Linked DNA regions of Homo sapiens: all the other regions are linked to region 1. Evidence: promoter capture Hi-C in 16 types of primary human blood cells and fetal thymus (Javierre and others, 2016). All regions are on one chromosome and are shown on one strand. Each heading gives the region's core, a stretch centred on a gene start or on the middle of the fragment in contact. The rest is flanking DNA. Distances are from core to core; before and after follow the strand shown.

The links. The method cuts DNA at HindIII sites, captures the fragments that hold promoters and counts their contacts. A CHiCAGO score of 5 or more calls a contact.
Region 2: a fragment that was not itself captured here is called in contact with the fragment with the promoter of PRKG1-AS1 in region 1 in 1 of 17 cell types (megakaryocytes); the score reaches 8.2 in megakaryocytes.
Region 3: a contact is called between a fragment that was not itself captured here and the fragment with the promoter of PRKG1-AS1 in region 1, in 1 of 17 cell types (M2 macrophages). The highest score is 5.6, in M2 macrophages.
Region 4: a contact is called between a fragment that was not itself captured here and the fragment with the promoter of PRKG1-AS1 in region 1, in 3 of 17 cell types (endothelial precursors, megakaryocytes and M2 macrophages). The highest score is 12.2, in endothelial precursors.

Annotation. Positions count from the first base shown.
Region 1 is chr10:52,312,737-52,315,637 of GRCh38, reverse strand. PRKG1-AS1 (PRKG1 antisense RNA 1) reads left to right here and starts at 1,510. Exons shown (of 6, transcript NR_038277.1): 1 at 1,510-2,004; 2 at 2,153-2,240. DKK1 (dickkopf Wnt signaling pathway inhibitor 1) reads right to left here and starts at 1,357. Exons shown (of 4, transcript NM_012242.4): 1 at 961-1,357; 2 at 553-715. The coding sequence starts at 1,203. The HindIII fragment of the contact is 4,208 bases long and covers 1-2,901 here.
Region 2 is chr10:52,767,969-52,770,869 of GRCh38, reverse strand. MBL2 (mannose binding lectin 2) reads left to right here. Exons shown (of 5, transcript NM_001378373.1): 3 at 84-200; 4 at 1,555-1,623; 5 at 2,360-2,901. The coding sequence ends at 2,733. Among named protein-coding and RNA genes, the nearest start is that of MBL2, 3.4 kb to the left of the region's middle. The HindIII fragment of the contact is 175 bases long and covers 1,456-1,630 here.
Region 3 is chr10:52,617,654-52,620,554 of GRCh38, reverse strand. All of the region lies in intron 1 of LOC105378305 (a long non-coding RNA gene), which reads left to right. Among named protein-coding and RNA genes, the nearest start is that of LNCAROD, 150 kb to the right of the region's middle. The HindIII fragment of the contact is 187 bases long and covers 1,270-1,456 here.
Region 4 is chr10:52,577,700-52,580,600 of GRCh38, reverse strand. LOC124902426 (a long non-coding RNA gene) reads right to left here. Exons shown (of 2, transcript XR_007062146.1): 2 at 552-911. The region is part of intron 1 of LOC105378305 (a long non-coding RNA gene); the gene reads left to right. Among named protein-coding and RNA genes, the nearest start is that of LNCAROD, 110 kb to the right of the region's middle. The HindIII fragment of the contact is 2,831 bases long and covers 48-2,878 here.

The DNA.
Region 1 (2,901 bases), core at 261-2,760:
AGGATGGAGAAGTCAAGTTGTGAGGGTACCAAGATCTCTCTTAAAAATGGCCAATGCAGATAAATCAGTCCTCTGGCTGACAACAGTTTCAGCAAAAATCAGAAGGCGAGGCCAGTCTGGCAAAACTGTGAGAATCACAATAAGAAAAATGAAAAGGACAGCTGAACGCCAAAGCTGGTTTCTTTGATATCTGTATGATCCCATCGTCCTCCTCATCATCCCCCTTCTCAATTGACCTCAAGGTTCTCCCCAGACAAATTTTTATGGAAGAGTCCACTACGAGGTGAACCGTTGTATTGAATCATTGAGGGACACGGAGGAAGATAAGGACCTCAGAGACCTCCCAACTTCTCTCTTCTTCCCGATTAAACACTTGCAATGAAGATACTTCAGCGGAATCCTGCATGCTGAACACCCATTTGCAGGTGGCGCCGCAGTGTTCTCAGGGCGGAGATTTCTCCCCCCACCCCCCCCAACCCCCCGCCCCCGCCCAATTCATAGACGCTCAAAGGCTGGACAGTTTTAGTGTGAAAGGGAGCTTTCAGGACTCACCATTTTTGCAGTAATTCCCGGGGCAGCACATAGCGTGACGCATGCAGCGTTTTCGGCGCTTCCTGCAGGCGAGACAGATTTGCACGCCTGCGTCCCCTCCGCGGGTGGGACTAGCGCAGTACTCATCAGTGCCGCACTCCTCGTCCTCTGCGCACGGGTACGGCTGTGGGAAGGGTTCGGGGAGAGGGTGAGGCACCCAGACGTCCAGGTACCCGCCCTCTTGGACCCGGGCGCTGATCACAGTCCTTATCTGTCCACCTCTCCAAAACCTGTTACTGCCCACTGCTCCCAAATGCAGGGTTACCAAATGCTCCCTGAACCGCACACATTCAGCACGTTCTACTCCCTCGTCTCCAGATAGGACCCTTTCAAGGTCAGAGCATCCTCTGAGTGCCCGACCCCTCTCACCTGGTAGTTGTCAATGGTCTGGTACTTATTCCCGCCCGGGTACAGGATTCCCGGCGCGGCGCTGACTGCAGAGCCTGGGTGCCCCGCAGCGCCGCCCAGCGGTGGGGGCAGGTTCTTGATAGCGTTGGAATTGAGAACCGAGTTCAAGGTGGCGCTCACTCCCAGCAGAGGGTGGCCGCCGAGAGCCGCCGCTACCATCGCGACAAAGACCCGGGTAGCTCCCGCTGCGCCCAGAGCCATCATCTCAGAAGGACTCAAGAGGGAGAAAGAAAGAGAAAATGACCGTCACTTTGCAAGCCTGGGTCCCCACGAAACCGTGCCGGTTCGGCTGCAGAGTCAGGGTCCGGGAGCCCCCTGCGGTCCCAGAGTCCTGACTGCAGGGAGCACAGAGCTCTGCGCCGCCACCGCCACCGCGGCTGCCTTTATACCGCGGGCCCGGAGCATTCCGGCCCCTTGGGAGGGAGACAACAAAGCCGGGATGGGATTTCAAAGCGCTGGGAGGGGCTGGGAGGGGGTGTGTTTGTGTACATGAAGGGGGGCCTTTGACACTCTTCACCCCGCCCCTCCCTTGCTTAGTCGCTCGGCTGGCCCGGCTCACCTTCGGGGTGAAGGCTACCAGCGAGCGTTATAGCAGACGACTTTAATAAATGCAGGCGGCAGCAGGAACTCTGGGAACTTGGGTGCCCTTGCCTGGCAGTAAGGGTTGAATTATCCGGATCTGAAATACTTTACAGAGCCGAGGGGTGATAGGCTCTGCAAAAGCACTTTTTGCCCCTCTCCTTTATGCCAATACTCGCTGACTGTGCACACAAGTCATATTCAGTATTAAATACAAACCGGTCTGTAATTCAATGGCTCTAGCAAGACGCCTCTGAGAGGGCCAGGTGGCGGGTGCAAGTTGCTCATTAACCCTTTAGAGTCGCAGTTTGCAGATCTGAGTTAGATCCCCGGCTTTGAGGTCCTTCAGTTGCCCTCCTCCCCCACCTCCCCCCGCCACTGCGAGAAAAATGTGCAAAGAGAAGGAAATTTGCACATCAAACGAGGGTAAGAAGGAAGAAGAGCTAATTCTCTTTTGATGGGAAGTTTAGAGAGGGAGGCGAGAGACTGGCGTTTAGAAATTAGATCAGGGGTGGAGGGAAGAGGGAAATGACCATCCGATAATCAAACCATTTAATGTTGTTCTTTGAATCAGGGCAATCGCGGCGGTAGATGAACTTGATTAGGCAGACGCGTGAGATCAAAGTGGCCGGGACCAAAGCGGACAGGGTCCAACGTGCCAGGTCAGTCGCCTTTCCCCGGTTCTCCCTTCTCAGTGGTGGGCTAATGTGGAGAAATAAGAAACCCTTAGGGCTTAGCGCCTGACTTCCTCATTAGTATATCACATCGCAACGCTTCCGAATGCAGGGTTTGCTCCCAAGTCTTACCTTGCACGGGACCACGCAATACCCTTTCTAGGGAGAAAAGAAACAACCTTGAGGAGAAGAAGAGCTGAAAGTGAATTAGAAAGTGAATTTGACGTCATTGAAATTGGTGTGTGGATATAATAAAGTAAGGCTGGTGTATAAGAATGATGTCATGCTTATAAATGGGAAATGATCTATTTAATTCAACAAAAACTTATTGGAAGCCTAGAGCCCTGGCATTGGGCTGCCCTCTGGGTTGTTACCTTATTTTTATTTTTTAAATTTTTTGGTGAGATGGGTGGTGGGGGGAGGGGCACAGTGAATACAAATATTTATGAGACACAGCTCTCATTTTAAATAATAAAGTTCTCTTTATTCTAATTACAGTAATAATAAAAGATGTAGTAACAATAAAATTATAGCAATAAATATAAAAGCATACATAATTCTTTTAAAAACAGGTTGATATTATAAGTGTCAGAAAATAAGCAACTGTTTTGTGAGTTTGGAAAAGGGAGAGATGATTGAATAATCACTA
Region 2 (2,901 bases), core at 294-2,793, 460 kb before region 1:
TGAGAAGGGATTGGGCATCAAACTCTTGAAGAGAGAGAGCAAGAACATAGATATTAAGTCACATTTCCTTTGTCTTCCAACAGGCCAAGGGCTCAGAGGCTTACAGGGCCCCCCTGGAAAGTTGGGGCCTCCAGGAAATCCAGGGCCTTCTGGGTCACCAGGACCAAAGGGCCAAAAAGGAGACCCTGGAAAAAGTCCGGGTAAGGACCCCAGCAAGGTCTGAGCTGACTTCACCCAGGGTTCTGAGACCTTGAGTATCTGGTAAGAGGTGCCCCTTCTCCTGTTCCTTCAAAGGAAGATACCCAAATTTGCTTTCTGACCCAGTGCCCTCAGCCCTCTCTTCATTCTTAGAGCCTTAGGGAATTCCTATAAGTGCCTGAGTACAGACTTACAAACTTTTCAAGACAACTCCCTCATCAGGCACTCCCTGTAAGAGCTGAGCCTGGATTCTCCATCAGCTGAAACAGTCTAATGTGAGGCCCTGGTCCTAGAGGGAGAAAACAGGCCATCTAAGTGTGGGCTTATTATACCTATTTTTACAAAAGCATGTAACCATGGTATGTCATATTTTACTTCATAAGAAACCAAGCCAAAGCTTAATAGCTTAAAAACATAGCCGTCAATTTAAATCACAAGTCTGTGGGTCGGCCATGTGATTTCTCTGCTGGTTTAAGCTGGGCTTACCCACATGTCTGTGGTCAACTGATGGCCAATAGTCTCACTCATGTGTCTGGCTGTTGTCTGAATGTTAGCTGGAGTGATGAGGGTAATTGAACCACATCTCTCATCATCCAACAGGGCTTGTTCACATAGCAGTGATTACAGGATTCCCAAGAGTAGAAATAAGATAGGCTTTAGGCTTCTTGAAGACTCAGAGCACATTATCATTTCTGTCAGACTGTATTGGTCAAAACAAGTCACAAGGCCAGCCCAGATTCAAGGAGTGGGGTAATAGACTCATGTCTTAATGCGAGGAGCTGTACCCTATTGAGGCCATTTTTGCCATCTACTACAACAAGTGATTTGCTCATGCCCTCCCCACTTGGATAATGGGCAACTCACAAAAATCTTGGTTTCCTGACTAACAGAACAAACCTGGAAAAAACAAAAACAAAACAAAAGACATCAAAAGCAAAACCTCTCCAAAGACAAAAACTCTGCAATCTTTTTCGTCACTCTTCACCAGGTCATAATAGAGTAACGCCTCAAGAGATTTCTTTTTAGTTTTGATAGAACAATTTATTTGAAAAAAAAATCTGTGAAGAACCTGGCATATGGATTGCTAGGTAATCAGGGAGTATATGTGTGCATGTGATATGTATGCGTACTTTGGGATACAGTAAACAGACAAAGAGGGACATTTGGGGTTGGATGGAAATAGCGATTTTTCATTCTTTGGGCTTTTCAGTATTTTTTATTTTCCTTCAAAGTGTAAACATCAATGTAAAATAAGCTTTTTTTTTCAGTTTGAAAAAGATACTCCACTCCCTTGTATATGCACAGTTCTGAGGCTCCTTCTCAACAATGCTTCTTTACTTTGTTCTAATTTTCTAGATGGTGATAGTAGCCTGGCTGCCTCAGAAAGAAAAGCTCTGCAAACAGAAATGGCACGTATCAAAAAGTGTAAGCTTTTTCTCTTACTCTCCAGGCAGCTTGAAGTTTGGGAAAAATAGAATGCAACAAATATTTGTTGAATGCATATAATTTTCTGTACCCTGCTAGGCATTTCTCATATTCTTACCTCATGAAATTCTCACAACATTTTGGTAGAAATGGAGGCAAAGGGAAGTTAAATTACTTGTTCAAATGCACAGAGCTAATAAATGGCAGGGGTGGTTTATAGATGGAAGTCAGTCTGACTCGAGAGACCCTAATCCTTTACCGTCTGATATTGCTCACTGAAAATGGGACTTATATCCCTTTGTTGCACTGGTATTGAGACCTGGCCGTGGGGTCTAACCTGCCTGGGGCAAATATTTTCAGACATTTTTTGTTTGGTCTCAAGTTAACAATTTAGAATTCAGAAGTCCAAATTATATGTCTTTTAGAATTCTGATCTGAAAGCACAGAGAGGCCTTTGTACCAGTCTGTCTGTTCACATTTGGGTTGCCATATTTAACAAATAAAAAGACAAAGCACCAGTTAAATTGGATTTCAGCTGAAAAACATTTTTAGTATAAGTGTGTCTGAAAAATTATATGGGAGATATACTAAAATATTCATTGTTTGTCTGAAATTCAAATTTAACTGGACATACTATATTTTATCCGGCAACTGTACTCTAGAAGACTTTTTCTTGAGAAATACCTTGAGTTGGGCTTAAGGATGAGTCAGTTTCACCCACTTTTTCACATTTTAGGGCTCACCTTCTCTCTGGGCAAACAAGTTGGGAACAAGTTCTTCCTGACCAATGGTGAAATAATGACCTTTGAAAAAGTGAAGGCCTTGTGTGTCAAGTTCCAGGCCTCTGTGGCCACCCCCAGGAATGCTGCAGAGAATGGAGCCATTCAGAATCTCATCAAGGAGGAAGCCTTCCTGGGCATCACTGATGAGAAGACAGAAGGGCAGTTTGTGGATCTGACAGGAAATAGACTGACCTACACAAACTGGAACGAGGGTGAACCCAACAATGCTGGTTCTGATGAAGATTGTGTATTGCTACTGAAAAATGGCCAGTGGAATGACGTCCCCTGCTCCACCTCCCATCTGGCCGTCTGTGAGTTCCCTATCTGAAGGGTCATATCACTCAGGCCCTCCTTGTCTTTTTACTGCAACCCACAGGCCCACAGTATGCTTGAAAAGATAAATTATATCAATTTCCTCATATCCAGTATTGTTCCTTTTGTGGGCAATCACTAAAAATGATCACTAACAGCACCAACAAAGCAATAATAGTAGTAG
Region 3 (2,901 bases), core at 114-2,613, 310 kb before region 1:
AGTCTTGCCAGCACCCCAGTGGGCAGCTTCTCAGCAAGTCCCCAGTGAGTGGCTTCCAGCTTTATAGTTACTGCCTGCAGCACTCAGTAAACTTCACCATCCATTGGGCACAGCCACACTCCTCAAAGAAGTCTGGATCTCAGCCTTGGTGAGAGAAGCTCTTCCAAGTTTGCTCCTTCCTTAGGTATTCTCTCAGCCCTAGAATTAGACATTGTTCTTTACATCTGTTATCCCTGAACTTCCATTACACTTAAAGCCAAAATGCAAAGTCTTCCATAAATCTTTTCAGATTCCTAATGTAATTGCGTCTGTTTTCTGAATTTCTATTAATAATTTATTTAAACTTCTCATACACTTCTTGGCACTTTCTCCCTTATGTTTTAACTATAATGAATATGAATTGTTTTGTACCACTCAGGGGGTGAATAAAATCACACTGTTTATTTATCATATTCTATCAGAACGAGGTTCTAGAAATATAAAACAGTTTAAGGTTAGCAGGAAGTCCAGGACCATATTCTTAAGGCCACCTGTTTACCATCTTAGATAATACAAAAAAATCAGCCCAGGAAATAGGTCCCCCAGCTTCCCTTGTCCAGAGCGAAAGGGCCAGTGCTTACCCTTTATGCAGAGTAAGAAAGCAGAGGTTTAGACTGCCAGCAAAATAGGGCATCAATAAGGTGAGGAAAGTTTACTTTACTATTATTTTTTATAGTTTTTTCATCTACAAATATAGAAAGTGTTTTTATTTTAGCATGCACACAAGTTTAGCATTTTATAGTTTAGTATTATTTTGACTTTGATTCACACGTGGATAAGTGAGTGAGAGTTTCTTAAACTTTTCAGTGCTCTGGGCCTCTGAACGTCTTGCCTTGGAAGAATCTTGACATTGCTGGGTTTGCCACCACCAACCCTTGCTTGCACACAGAACAACAACTGAGTTGCTGGGTCTTCCTTCCTCTGCCTATTGCTGCTTTCATCCTATGTCCCTGCAGAGGCCAGCCTGGTTTTTTGAAGGACAGTGGCTCTGAGTGTGATTTCATTCCTTCATAACCAGCTTGGTTATGGCTTGCCCTGGCTCAAGGCCTCAGTGCTAATGTCCAGTCCATCTGGGTACCACACCTGGAAAGCCACATTGGACCCTCTGGATCTCAGAGGGCTCAAACACCCACCCACATGGAACCTGCAGTCTTTATGTCCTCCATGTCCTGAGAGATCTATCCAGCATGAAGGGTTCATTTCACATGCTGGTGATTGATCTGAAAAGCTTAGGTGGTCAATTAGAAAAGACTGAAAGGGGGACCTAACCACTCTCAATGAGTCACTCTCCCATTCCTTCTAATAGTCACTCTTCCTGAGGATGAATACAGAATTTCTTGCACACACACACACACACTAATGCATTCACATACATAATAAGTTCCTGAATGGTCATCTACGTATTTTGTTATAAGCTTGTCTTATCTTTTCCACTCAAGTCAAAATCCTAAATGTAAGCTCAGGGCCTGATTTCTGTCCTTTGTGCCACACATAAAGTAATATGTGGTAAGTGGACAAAATACTTGTTGAATTAGAGAGCGAATGATGGCATTATTTTTAATTCCAAAAACTTCATTTGATTAGTATAATCACATAACTAACAGTTTCACTTTACCAATAATAAATCATTGAGAGTAACAGAATCAGGAGTCAAAAACTGCTTATTTAGAGACTAGTTATAATCAATGAGTATTTCAGGAAAAAAAAAAAAAAACATTTATTAGGCACCCACTTACTATGTGCCTGGAACTATGTTAGGTGCTAGGGTCACAAACATTAATCAGATAAGATGCCTGCTATTAAGAAGTTTATAGTTTATAAAGGACAACCAGCACATAGGTGAAAATTCATTTTTCAGTGTAACAAGGCCAATGAAGATGAGTATAAAATACTGGGGGTGCAGAGGACACACAGTTATATAGCACTCTGTGATTCCACCAACATAACACTCAATATACTCTAGTGGAATTACCAATTGAATAAATAATTGCCTTCTCTAAAAGATTATAAGCTCCAAGAGATCAGTGCCTCTATTATGTTCCCTGTAATCTCCCAAGTAACTAGCAGAGATCTTGGAGCATAATAGGTACTAAATAACCTCATAAGCAAATGAATGAATGAATGAATGATACTACTACTGTTACTGCTACTAGTAGCTGAAGGAGAAACTCAAGGAAACACAGAATTTTACTTTAGGAGACAGGACTCCAGTGTCAGATGTACCTGATTTTGAATCCTAGCTCCCCTATTTACTAACTGGGTGGACTAATTTTTTGCCTTTCGAGACCTGGGTTTTTATATCTTTGAGAAGGAAATAATACTGTTACCTAACTCTAGCTTTATGCAAGGTTTAAGATAATAAATATAGATGCTCAGTGCACTGCCTAAAGCTTAGTAGGCACTTATTAAGTACTTACCATTTTATAAATATTACTATTTCCTATAGTTTCTCTTTTGTCATTTATAGTAGAAGCAGACGAAAAAAGTGGCAATATGTCTTCTCAATGTAAATTTAATAATAGTGGTTTACATTTGTTGACAAAAGAATAAAAGGGCTCCCCAAACCTTCTTTTGAAATGTTAATTAGTCCTGACATATTAATAATTTTCACAATTTGAAATTCAAAGGCTTTTATATCCTTATCTGAAGTTTCTATATGAGAAGCTGATGATAAATCAAGTGTATTCTCTTAAAATAAGATTCAGTTAAATTGATTGAGGTATTTGTTTCAGAGACTATAATGGTTCTCATTTTATACTGAAAGCTTTAGAAAATATAAATAAACTTTGTCACAATAATGTTTCCTTCAGGGATTTATCCCAAGAATCAGTCACTAGATATAAGCAATGATTTCAATACAAG
Region 4 (2,901 bases), core at 214-2,713, 270 kb before region 1:
ATGTCTCTATTAGCAACATGAGAACAGACTAATACACTCACTAAGCTTAATCATATCTAGCTTTTTATTTAAAGTGAGAAACATGAAACTCTTTCTTTCACTTCAACACTTAGAGGCCATTGTAGGGATATTAATTGGTCTAATTTCAACACTGTTGTGTCTGAGGGAATTGAGAGTCCAAGGAGCAGGAGAAAGATGAGGCAACACCTGATTGGTGGAGCAGTTAGAATACACACAGTATTTACCAATTAAGTGCACCGTCCTATATGAATGCAGTTGGTGGTGCCCTAAAACAATTACAATAGGAACATCAAAGATCACTGATCACAGACCACCATCACAGATATAATCATAGTGAAAATTTTTAAATATTGTAAGAATTACCAAAATGTAACATAGAGACGCAAGGTGAGCACATGCTCTTGGATAAATGGCACCAATGGACTTGCTGAATGAAGGGTTACCACACAAACCTTCCATTTGTAAAAAAAAAAAAAAAAAAAAAAAAAAGCAATATCTGTGAAGCACAAAAAAAGTGAAGTGCAGTAAAATGAGGTATGCCTGTTTTTTATTAAGAAGTCTTTTTTTTTTTTCAGACGGACTCTTGCTCTGTCACCAGGCTGGAGTGCAGTGGCACGATCTCGGTTTACTGCAACCTCCACCTCCCAGGTTCAAGCAATTCTCCTGCCTCAGCTTCCCAAGTAGCTGGGACTACAGGCATGCACCACCATGCCCAGCTGATTTTTCTATTTTTGTTAGAGACGGGGTTTCACCATGTTGGCCAGTCTGGTCTCGATCTCCTGACCTCGTGATCCATCCGCCTCGGCTTCCCAAAGTGCTGGGACTACAGGCGTGAGCCACCGGCCTGGCCCAAGAAGTCTTCTTTTTATAGTTAAGGAAGGGTGAAATCCCTGGAAAAGGAGAGATTGACATCCTAAGCATTCCCAAAGATATAAAGACCTTACAAATGTTTCTGTGTTCACTTTGATAAAATCTCATCACCCTTTCAAGCATAAAACTTAAACTCTTTTGGTTTGAAATGTAGTGCTGTTTTATCTTTTGTGTGCTTAGAACTGCTCTTCTTTATAAACCAGCCCTCTTCTGCAGATCTGTATTTTTCATTTAAGATCTACAGGAAAATAAATAATACTGATTCCAAATATCTTTTGTAAGAGAATGTTCAAAAGTTTGATCATATGCAGGCCTCTTTGTTATGATATAGTAAACCTTTGATTGCATCACTCCTATCTAAACACGTTTCTTTCTCCTGACCGTCTCTCAGTTTGTATGCGGGAGTCAGGATTGGTTTTCTTGGTTTGCTTCCTGTTTTGTTTCTCTTTAAGCACAATGGCAGCCAGTTGTTCCTGCGGCACTGTGGTCTGCTGAATTTTTCTCTTATCAATCTTCTAGAGAAAAAAATGTTAAGGATGTTTGTTATTACAATAATTAGAAAGGAATTCTACCTTCTAAATTCTCACAGATATCAGGAAATATACCCATTGGCCACAATCCTAATCACTAAACTTCAGATTCCTTAAAAGCTCTATTATTTTAACTACCATTTCCCTTAAAAAATGTCTAGTTGTGGAAACCTCAGGAAATGCACAGGAAATAACTGCCTGAGAAAATGTTAGCCAGGGAACGGGGTCATATAACAAAGTGGTAAGGCATGACTGAAACTACACCCAAACATTGTTATTTTACTTCTCAAACTGTCTTTGTTGGTGGCATTAAATATTTATAAAGAAATAACTCTGTCACAATATGGATATCATGTCTTAGAAATATCATTGCCCAATTAGGCAAAGAACCAAAACAGCCAGCTAGTTATTGACTTTTCAAGGCAAGGGGAAGTGGAGAGTTGAGTCAATTATCCAGGCAATATTCTTGCTACTGAGAGAATTTGTGTTCAACGATTCCAAGTGATTGGGTACAGACACTGCTTGCAGTCAACTTTTCACTTCTATTTTGGATATCCATTTGATTTACAAGTTCACAGATATTTAGAATTGTGAAGATACGACATCTGACTTAAAAAAAAAATAGGCAGACACTTTGCAGTAGAAAAGGCTGATGTAAATAAGAGATATTCTCTCTTATCGCTCAAAATCTATTCAGATCTATGCTGATTCCATACCAGACAGACTTGAATATACATCTCAGCTTTGCTACTAGTGCTTATGAATTTGGGCATTTTTTTTTTTTTGGTATCCACTAAGCCTCAGTTTCTCTCTTTGTAAAATGACAATAACAGTACCTTCCTTTGGCTTAAAGATACACATTTAATTTCACATTTGAGTATTTCTGATGTGAAATTGATGAGTTATATAATTGATGAGTAAATTCGACATAGTGTTTTGTCTTTCTCCTAAATGAAAATTACTAAATAATGCAGTTTATAATCTACAGCATACAGAAAGAGATGAAATGGTCACATGTAATTCATAGTATTTTTTCAAGATTACAGGAGATAATACTTGAATTGCTCTTGCCACATAAAGAATACTAAAGTTTAGCTACCACACTTACTATTATCATTGTAACTGCAACTCCATGACTAAAACTACCAATGCCTCTGACTCAGTTTCCTCACGTGTAAAATAAAGGGAATAAGGTACACTCTATCTCATAGAGTTTAAACTTACCTAAAGCTCTTTGCATGGTGCTTGGTACATAATAAGTGCTCATTAAAAGGTAGCTACTACTATTATTTACAATTAATAACTGTGACCACTATCATGGCCTCTACTACTACAACCACTCTTATTAGGAGGAATTATAGCCTCATTAATCTCAAATAATTTGCAGTCTAATTATAAAAACATTAAAGCAAAATATTTCAAGATAGAATTTGCTTTCAATGTTGTTCCATTAAGCTTAGCAAGAGATTGGAGAAGAACA